Regions from separate parts of the Homo sapiens genome. Here region 1 is linked to region 2. Evidence: promoter capture Hi-C in human tissues and cell types (Jung and others, 2019). All regions are on one chromosome and are shown on one strand. Each heading gives the region's core, a stretch centred on a gene start or on the middle of the fragment in contact. The rest is flanking DNA. Distances are from core to core; before and after follow the strand shown.

Region 1 (5,712 bases), core at 11-2,510, 590 kb before region 2:
CACATGAAAACATTTTTTATTGATGACATGTTAAAATATTTTGGATATATTGGGTTACACAGAATATATCATTACAATTAATTTTTCCTGTCTCTTTTTTCTTTTTTTCTTTTTAAACGGCGCCTTGCTTTGTCACCCAGACTGGAGTGCAATGCACTGCAACCTCTGCCTCCCAGGCTCAAGTGATTCTACCATCTCAGCCTCTGGAATTATGGGACTACAGGTGCACACCACCATGACTGGCTAATTATTGTGTTTTTGTTTGTTTGTTTGTACAGATGAGAAATCTCATCTCTACAATCATGAGGTTTCCATGTTGCCCAGGCTGGTCTCGAACTCCTGAGCTCTAGCAATCTGTCTGCCTCGGCCTCCCAAAGTGCTGGGATTACAGGCATGAGCCACCGTGCCCAGCCCTTTCTATTTCTTTTTACTTTTTGACATGGCTACTAGAAACTTTTAAATTACAGGGTCTTGCCCTGTGGTAGCTCACGCCTGTAATCCCAATACTTTGGGAGGCTGAGGCAAGTGGATCCCTTGAGCTTAGGAATTTTGAGACCAGCCTGGGCAACGTAGTGAAACCCCATCTCTACCAAAAATACGAAAAATTAGCTTGGCATAGTGGCGCACACCTGTGGACCCAGCTACTTGGGAGGCTGAGGTGGGAGGATTGCTGTAGCCTGGGAGGCGGAGGTTGCAGTGAGCCAAGATTGTGCCACTGCACTTCAGCCTGGGCGACAGAGCGAGAGCCTGTCTCAAAAAAAAAAATATGTGGCTCGCGTTATGTTTTTATGGGACAGCGCAGCTCTGTAGGATTCCTTATGACGCATTCACTATCTCGGTCATGAGAATCTTTAAAGCAGTAAATGCTTTGCTTTTGTCCGTCTTGCTATAATCAAAACTGACTCAGGACCTGCATTAAGGCTCTTTTTTTTTTTAACCTCATCTCTTAACTTTTTGATGCAACTCATCTTAGTGAAATTGTGGTCTCCTCCTACAGCAACCCTCCCTCAAAAAAAGACCGAACACGCAATTCTCATCTATCTAACTCTGTTAACAATCATATGAGGAGGAAATAATCACATGATAATGAGTGGCATGAAACCCTGTGTCTCTAAATTAAGCAACTCACTGTACTTGATGAGTACATCAGTCTTCCTGCCCCAAGCTTTTGTGTGTCAGACTGGAATTAAATGGAAGCTTACACTGCAGCTGAATTCCTAGAAGCCCTGGACTTGTCAGGGGAAAAGCCCATGGGGGGAAAGCCCATCTCTAGGCTGGGCAATGAACTTGGAGACTGCTCGATCACACACACTCATAAGTAACAAAACCATTAATTTCTTTTCTTTTTTTTGGTGGAGGGACAGAGTCTCACTCTTGCCCAGGCTGGAGTGCAGTGGCATGATCTCAGCCCACTGCAATCTCCACCTCCCGGGTTCAAGTGATTCTCCTGCCTCAGCCTCCCGAGTATGTGGGACTACAGGCACCCACCACCACACCCAGCTAATTTTGTGTATTTTTAGTAGAGTCGGGGTTTCACAATGTTGGCCAGGCTGGTCTTGGACTCCTGACCTCAACAAAACCAGTGAATTTCTGAAGTCTCAGCATCTAGGACTTAGAAGAAGGAGAAGCCTAGCATTTCCTGATTCTATAAATAACAACACTGATAGTCTCTAGTAGATGTTTAACAGCAGTTCGAAGGGGAGGGGTTCTGATTTGTAGTACTGGCCAATTTCCACGGTGTCAGTACTTGCTCTGTGACCAACGATGACTCACAAACATTGTTGTAAACATTTGACCTACATTAATTCTTTTACCCTCACAAGAATCCTGTGAAGATCTACTATCATTCCCAGATTATAGATGGGAAAAACTGAGGCACAATGAGGTTAAGCACCTTGGCCAAAGTTATGCCTCGTGAATGGTGGAGCTGAGCCATGAACCAAGACCTCTGCCTCCAGTCTGTCCTAACCCCTATAAGCTAATGCCTGTAGATGGTTTTTTTTTTTTTTTTTTTTTTGAGACAGAGCCTTGCCCTGTCGCCCAGGCTGGAGTGCGGTGGCATCACAGCTCACTGCAGCCTCCGTCTCCCAGGCTCAAGTGATCCTCCCACCTCAGCCTCCCAAATAGCCGGGATTTTTATTGGACAGCACAGCTCTGTAGGATTCCTTATGACGTATTCACTGTCTCAGTCACGAGAATCTTTAAAGCAGTAAATGCTTTGCTTTTGTCCATCTTGCTATAATCAAAACTGACCATGCCCGGCTAATTTTTTATTTTTTGTAGAGATCCCTATGTTGCCCAGGCTTGTCTCGAGCTCTTGGGCACAAATGATCTTCCCCCCTTGACCTCCCAAAGTTCTGGGATTACAGGCGTGAGCCACTGTACCCAGCCCCTTTGGATTTTTAATTGTTCAAACTGGTAGTCATAGTCCCACTTCAGAGGAGAGAACCATATATGTGACCAGAATTCTTGGGGGAAAAGTAAGAAACTACTCTTAAAAGTTCCTTAAAGGGTAGAATTCTCTTTTCTAGAAAGAGTAGCCTAGGGTTGTCCAATCTTTTGGCTTTCGTGGGCCACACTGGAAGGAGAAATTATCTTGGGCCACACATTAAATATGCTAACACTAACAATAGCTGATGAGCTAAAAAACAAACTTTTTTTGATCACACAAAAAAAAATCTCATAACGTTTTAAGAAAGTTTACGAATTTGTGTTGGGCCTCATTCAAAGCCATCCTGGGCCGCATGCGGCCTGTGTGCTATGGGTTAGACAAGCTTAGAGTAGAGCATAGTGGGTGAGAGAAGAGGCTTCAGATGCTTCTGGCTTGAGTTCAAATCCTGACTCTGCCACTCACTAGCTGTGTGACCTTTGGCAAGTGACTTAACCTCTCTGTGTTTCCATTTCCTCCTCTGTAAAATGGAAATAATAATAATGATACCTGTCTCATAAAGTGGTCAGGATTAAATGAGTTAATACATATAAAGAGCTTAGATCAGTGCCTGGTGCCTATAAACACTCCAGTGGTAACTGTTATAATTTGTATTATCTCTTGGTGATTCCCATAGGTCACAGGCATTGAAAGTGCTCAAAGGGCCAGGTGCAGTGGCTCACGCCTGTAATCCCAGCACTTTGGGAGGTCGAGGTGGGTGGATCACCTGAGGTCAGGAGTTCGAGACCAGCCTGGCCAACATGGTGAAACCCCGTCTCTACTAAAAATACAAAATTAGCCAGGCGTGTTGGCGCATGCCTGTAATCCCAGCTACTTGGGAAGCTGAGGCAGGAGAATTGCCTGAACCCGGGAGGCGGAGGTTGCAGTGAGCCAAGATCACACCATTGCACTCCAGCTTAGGCAACAAGAGCGAAACATCGTCTCAAAAAAAAAAAAAGAGAAAATGCTCAAATGTAATAAAGACAGTATTCATCGAGCGTTTTCTCTGTGCCATCAGTGTGCTGAGTGCTTTACCTGCACCATCTCATTTATTTCCCGCAAACCCTCCTGTGGTTTAGGTGCTACCATCCCCATTTGGCAGAAGTGGAAATGGAGTCCCCTAGAAGGTACGTAGCTTGTAGAAAGTCATGTAATTAGTCAACATCGTACTTCCAGCCACTGGCCAGCAGAAGCTTCCCCATCAATTCAAATCCATTGAATCCTAATGGCAATTTAAGAGGCCTGTTTTATTTTATAGGTGGGTGTTTGTGTGGGAAAAGGGCTACCAGGAAACTGACTCCGTGGTCAGCTCCGTTACGACCAAGGTCAAGGGCGTGGCTGTGACCAACACTTCTAAACTTGGATTCCGGATCTGGGATGTGGCGGATTATGTGATACCAGCTCAGGTGTGTCTCCCACTGTGTCTTCTGTCTAACACTGACACCTTGCTCTTTACTGACTTTGCACACTTGATTAATGATTGACGTGGCCTGAGTCCTGACATCACCAATGCCCAGAATGATTGTTTTAGTCCAAGAAAACGGTGCAGCCAGATCTCTTTTCAGCTTAGGATCTAACAGAGTGTATCCAGGCAGCTGTGGTTCCTCAGCTTGAAAGCATGGCAGGCTGAAAGCCCTGAAAGATGAGAAAACAAATGTCTTAAATCCTGATAGAAATTCAAGTGGAAATATCACCTTTCCACATTTTGGGTTTGCATTATTGTCCCAAATACACGAGGTAAATCTTTTCAGACAGTGTAAAAACTTTAGGCCGGGCACAGTAGCTCACGTGTGTAATCCCAGCACTTTGGGAGGCTGGGGCGGGCAGATACCTTGAGCCCAGGAGTTTGAGACCAGCCTGGGCAATGTGGTGAAACCCCATCTCTATAAAAAAAAAAAAAAAGAAAAAAAAAGAAAAGAATTAGAGACCATTAGAGACCAAAACCCAAACAAGAAGGAAACAGAGACAGCAGCACAGGACTCCATCGGGAGCGAAAGGAAGGGAAGACATTGTTTACTGCTGCATACTAGTCTTCAGGCTGTTAATCTGCAAAGCTCCAAGTTAAACATTGACTCTTTAGTCCTGGTAACAGCTCTGCACCACACAGTCAAACCCGACATAGCCCTCCAGATGGCCTATGTGCTAAGGGACCGAGGGCGACCAGTAGAGATAAGCTGCCAACTCTTGGCTCAGAGCTCTTGCCAGGGAAAACAAGAACTCCAGAAACTCTTTCTTCAGGTGTGTTCTTCCCCCTGCCTTCTCAAGAGAAGGGTCTTGTGGGGTCCCCAGAGAGGAGACCGAGCTAATGAGCCATAAAAGTCAGGAGGAAGGGCCAGGTGCGGTGGCTCATGCCTGTAATCCCAGCACTTTGGGAGGCCGAGGTCGGTGTATCATGAGGTCAAGAGATTGAGACCATCCTGGCTAACATGGTGAAACCCTGTCTACTAAAAATACAAAAATTAGTGGGGTGTGGTGGTGGGTGCCTGTAGTCCCAGCTACTAGGGAGGCTGAGGCAGGAGAATCTCTTGAACCTGGGAGGCGGAGGTTGTAGTGAGCCGAGATAGTGCCACTGCACTCCAGCCTGGTGACAGAGCAAGACTCCGTCTCAAAAAAAAAGATCAAGTGGAACAGGGGATTTGCAGTTGGCTGGAGGGGGCAGTCCTGTTAGCATGTACCTGTCTCAGCAGAGAGACGGTTGCCTCCTGTGCAGGCATAGCCTTGTCCCGGTGAGCTCTGGGAATGTCATGCTCGGTGTGTTTACTGGGCAGATGAGGAAGGGCACAAGCCCCGCTTTTGTCCCTTGGTGGAAAGGAGCACCCCACAACTCAGCCTTCCGTGGTGGATCTGGGCGGGGGCCGTGTGAGTTCCCCAGGGCTTTCCTCATGAGCTTTCACGACGTCTGTGTTCTTTGTAGATGGAACACAGTCATCTATTTGCAGCCCCTTGGCTCATCTCCAGACTGAAATTACCCTTAATTTGAAGTAGATAAGTGATAGGAAACAGGCCAGATGTGGTGGTTCATGCCTGTAATCTCAACACTTTTGGAGGCCGAGGCAGAAGGATCACTTGAGCCCAGGAGTTTGAGGCTGAAGTGAACTGTGATCACGCCACTGCACTCCAGCTAGGGCAACAGAGCAAGACCCCAACTCTAAAAGAGAGAGAAAGAAGGAGAGATAGGAAACGAAAAGTAGACCATACTGGATTGTTCCAAGTATAACTCAGGAGAGTCGTAGGAGCGGCCTTCTCTAACACCAAATGCAGAGTGTGTTTGTACATTGAACACC
Region 2 (2,963 bases), core at 464-2,963:
TCTCAGCAACATTAACATCAAAACTGTACTGCGTCAGGACAGAATGGATTGGGTACTTACAATGTAAAAGGTTTTTTAAAAACTAAAAGAGTAACAACTGCTCACAATTTTTTGTTGCTGCCATTTCGCTAGTCCTAAAGCTATATACATTTAAAACATTACCTTGTTAAAAAGAGAGAAGGAGTTAATAAGATGGCCAGGTTTAAGTGTTTAATAGAGGAAACTAGATATATTTAAAAATTTATTGTTCAGTCAAGAGAATACAGATTAAGACAGCTCCAAGCTCCCCCCACCCACCCATAGAACAAAAAGAGGAAAAAAAATATGTCATTTACTTAGGTTTTTTTGGAATTCAAAACTGTTAACTGCTGACATGAATGGTGTGCTATGACCTAGTTATACAAGACAAAGATGGATTCCAAGTCATAAGGAAAAATCCAGATCTTTTTAAAAAGTCTTCTCCAGTCTTCCAACTGTGAGTCCTTGGGCCTGTTGACAAATGTTAAACACACTGAGACGTCCTGAACTGGATGGTAGAGTCAAAGGAAAAACATTCCCCATTTGCAACAAAGGAAAAACCCACTTGGCCATTTAATTCCATTGCAGAAAAATGGCTTCCCTCATCTGTTGGCCTCTCCTTCGTGTCTGATGAAGGATGTTTTGAGATCAGCGTCTAATAACTCAAGCCCTATAGAAGCCGCGCGCTGATTGGCTGCCGCGCCCTGCCGCCCTGCTCCAGCCAATTACCTACCCACGGCCAAATTACAAACCCCGAAAAGAGCCCCAATATGAGCTACACCAGCTCCGAGCCCCGGCGAGGCGGCTCCTGCGCCTCGGCCGCCAGAGAGGAGCGGCAGAGGGGGCTGCAAACGCGTCCTCGCGAAGCCCGGGAGCCTCGGAGTTGAACTCACAAAATGGAAGCCGCGCGCTGATTGGCCGCCGCCACTCCCGGACCTTTAATAAAGAAAGGGGAAGGAAAAGATAAATGCAAAAAAGGGGGACTCTCTCCTCCGCGGGTGGCTGGAGGAAGGGGGGGAAGCATGTGTTCAGGACAATTACAGGGCGCTCCCCTCCAAAAATAAAAACAGAAGAAGGCGTCTATCGCCCAGGTCCAGGCGAGGGCTGCATCCTCCCAGGAATGCGAATGCTAACGTGGTGAACCCTGGTCTCCCTTCCCCAGCTCAGCTCCGGGGAGGGGGTCGCGGGCCGCAGGAGGAAGCCGGAGCGCAGATACCTCGATTGCAACTCCTCTGAGTCGACGCCGGCCTCCCCCCGCGGCTCCCAGCGTCCACACACACCCTCGGCCCCCCAGACCCCAGCCATCTCCCCGGGCCCCGCGCGCCCGCCTCCGGCCCGGGCAGTTTGGAAACAGTTTTGCAGGCCCGGGACGCACGCCGCGGCGGTCGCGGCTCTGAGGGTAGTCCCGGCCGCGGGAGGTAGAGCCCGGGGAGACCCCCTCCCCCGCCAGCCAAGACCCCCACCCCAGTCCCAGAAAAATAAATAAATTAAAAGGCCTTCCCCCGGGGAGGGGGAGGCAGTGTGGGAGCGCGCGAGTGAGGGGTGGGGGGCCGCTGGGGCCCGGGGCTTTGGCGGCGCAGCTGCCGCCGCCGGGAGAGTGCCTGGGGAAGCGGCGAGGAAGGAGAGGGGAGGAGGAAGAGGAGGAGGAGGAGGAAGAGGAGGAGGGTGAGCGCTCGGGTCGGGCTCCTTAGCGGTGTATTGTGGGATGTGCGGCTACTGGGAGCCGAGCCTCCGCCGCCAGCCGCCTCCCGGGCAGCAGCAGCAGCAGCGGCGGCGGCAGCGGCAGCAGCTCCGGGCCCGGCAGCCGCGGCGGCGGCGCCCCCCCTTCCTGGCCCCCGGTCCGGCCGCCCCGGCCTCGGCTCCCTCGGGGGACACCATGTACTGGCTGGCGGCGCAGGGAGGCCGGCGCCCGGCGGGGATGTAAGCGCGGCTCGGGGAGGGAGAGGCCGCGGCCGGCAGCCGGGCGGCCCAAGCCCCCGGCCCCGGCCCTGGCCCGAGCGGGCGAGCGGGCGGGCGGGCGGCGGCGCCGCCAGGCCCTGCCGCCAGCCTCGCGCCAGAGCCGGGCCGAGCTAGCGGGTGAGCGCCACGCCGGGCGGCCGGGCGGGCACCATGGGCCGGAGTCCGCGTCCTCCGGGCGCCCCGGGCCCCGCCAGCCCGCCCAGGGGACCCCCGGGAGCCCCTCGCTGCCGCCCCGAGACGGTGGCCGAGCGGGCGGGCGCGTAATTCTCCCGGAAGGGTTATTCTCTCGCTCCATTCTTGTTTTGGGGGGAGCCAGCGAGACAGCTCCTTTCGGGGCGCGCTGGCAAGGTGGGAGGGGGTGGGGGCCTGCCGATTGGATTCTTTCGCGTGTGTGTAGAAGCGGCCGCCGCCGCCGCCGCGGCGGAGACGACAACAACTTGCTGGTTTTCAGGTTGGGTTAACGGCATGGAGAACAGTCACCCCCCCCACCACCACCACCAGCAGCCCCCGCCGCAGCCCGGCCCTTCGGGCGAGAGGAGGAACCACCATTGGAGAAGTTACAAGTTGATGATTGACCCGGCTCTGAAAAAGGGGCATCATAAACTGTACCGCTACGATGGGCAGCATTTCAGCCTGGCGGTGAGTAGCCGGCGCGCCCCCCCAGCCGTGCCCCGCGTCGTGTCCGGGGAGACGCGCCTAGCGGCCAGGGACCCCCCGCCCGATCCCCCGGCCAACTGTCAGACGGGGCCCCAGCCCTGGAGTTTGACAAGTGCCTCGAGAAAGGGGTCTGCCCATGGGGAGGGGGACCAGTTCTCTCATCCCGGCCCCCCAATTTCTCCCCACAGATGTCCAGCAACCGCCCGGTGGAAATTGTCGAAGATCCCCGGGTCGTCGGGATCTGGACCAAAAACAAGGAGCTGGAGCTGTCGGTGCCCAAATTCAAGGTAGGACCCCTCCCCACTGCCCCGCCGTCCCTCCCCCACCTC

What was found. Contacts are between HindIII fragments. The study calls those that stand out against the background at their distance.
Region 1: a contact is called between a fragment that was not itself captured here and the fragment with the promoter of SETD1B in region 2, in 1 of the 25 tissues and cell types used here (dorsolateral prefrontal cortex).

Annotation. Positions count from the first base shown.
Region 1 is chr12:121,213,448-121,219,159 of GRCh38, forward strand. It overlaps P2RX4 (purinergic receptor P2X 4), which reads left to right. Exons shown (of 12, transcript NM_002560.3): 2 at 3,687-3,834. Among named protein-coding and RNA genes, the nearest start is that of P2RX4, 6.2 kb to the left of the region's middle. The HindIII fragment of the contact is 3,874 bases long and covers 1-3,197 here.
Region 2 is chr12:121,802,296-121,805,258 of GRCh38, forward strand. It overlaps SETD1B (SET domain containing 1B, histone lysine methyltransferase), which reads left to right and starts at 1,714. Exons shown (of 17, transcript NM_001353345.2): 1 at 1,714-1,938; 2 at 2,429-2,616; 3 at 2,823-2,921. The coding sequence starts at 2,443. LINC01089 (long intergenic non-protein coding RNA 1089) reads right to left here and starts at 651. Exons shown (of 4, transcript NR_152740.1): 1 at 336-651. RefSeq lists silencers at 1,259-1,508, 1,779-1,908, 1,949-2,008. The HindIII fragment of the contact is 28,947 bases long and covers 1-2,963 here.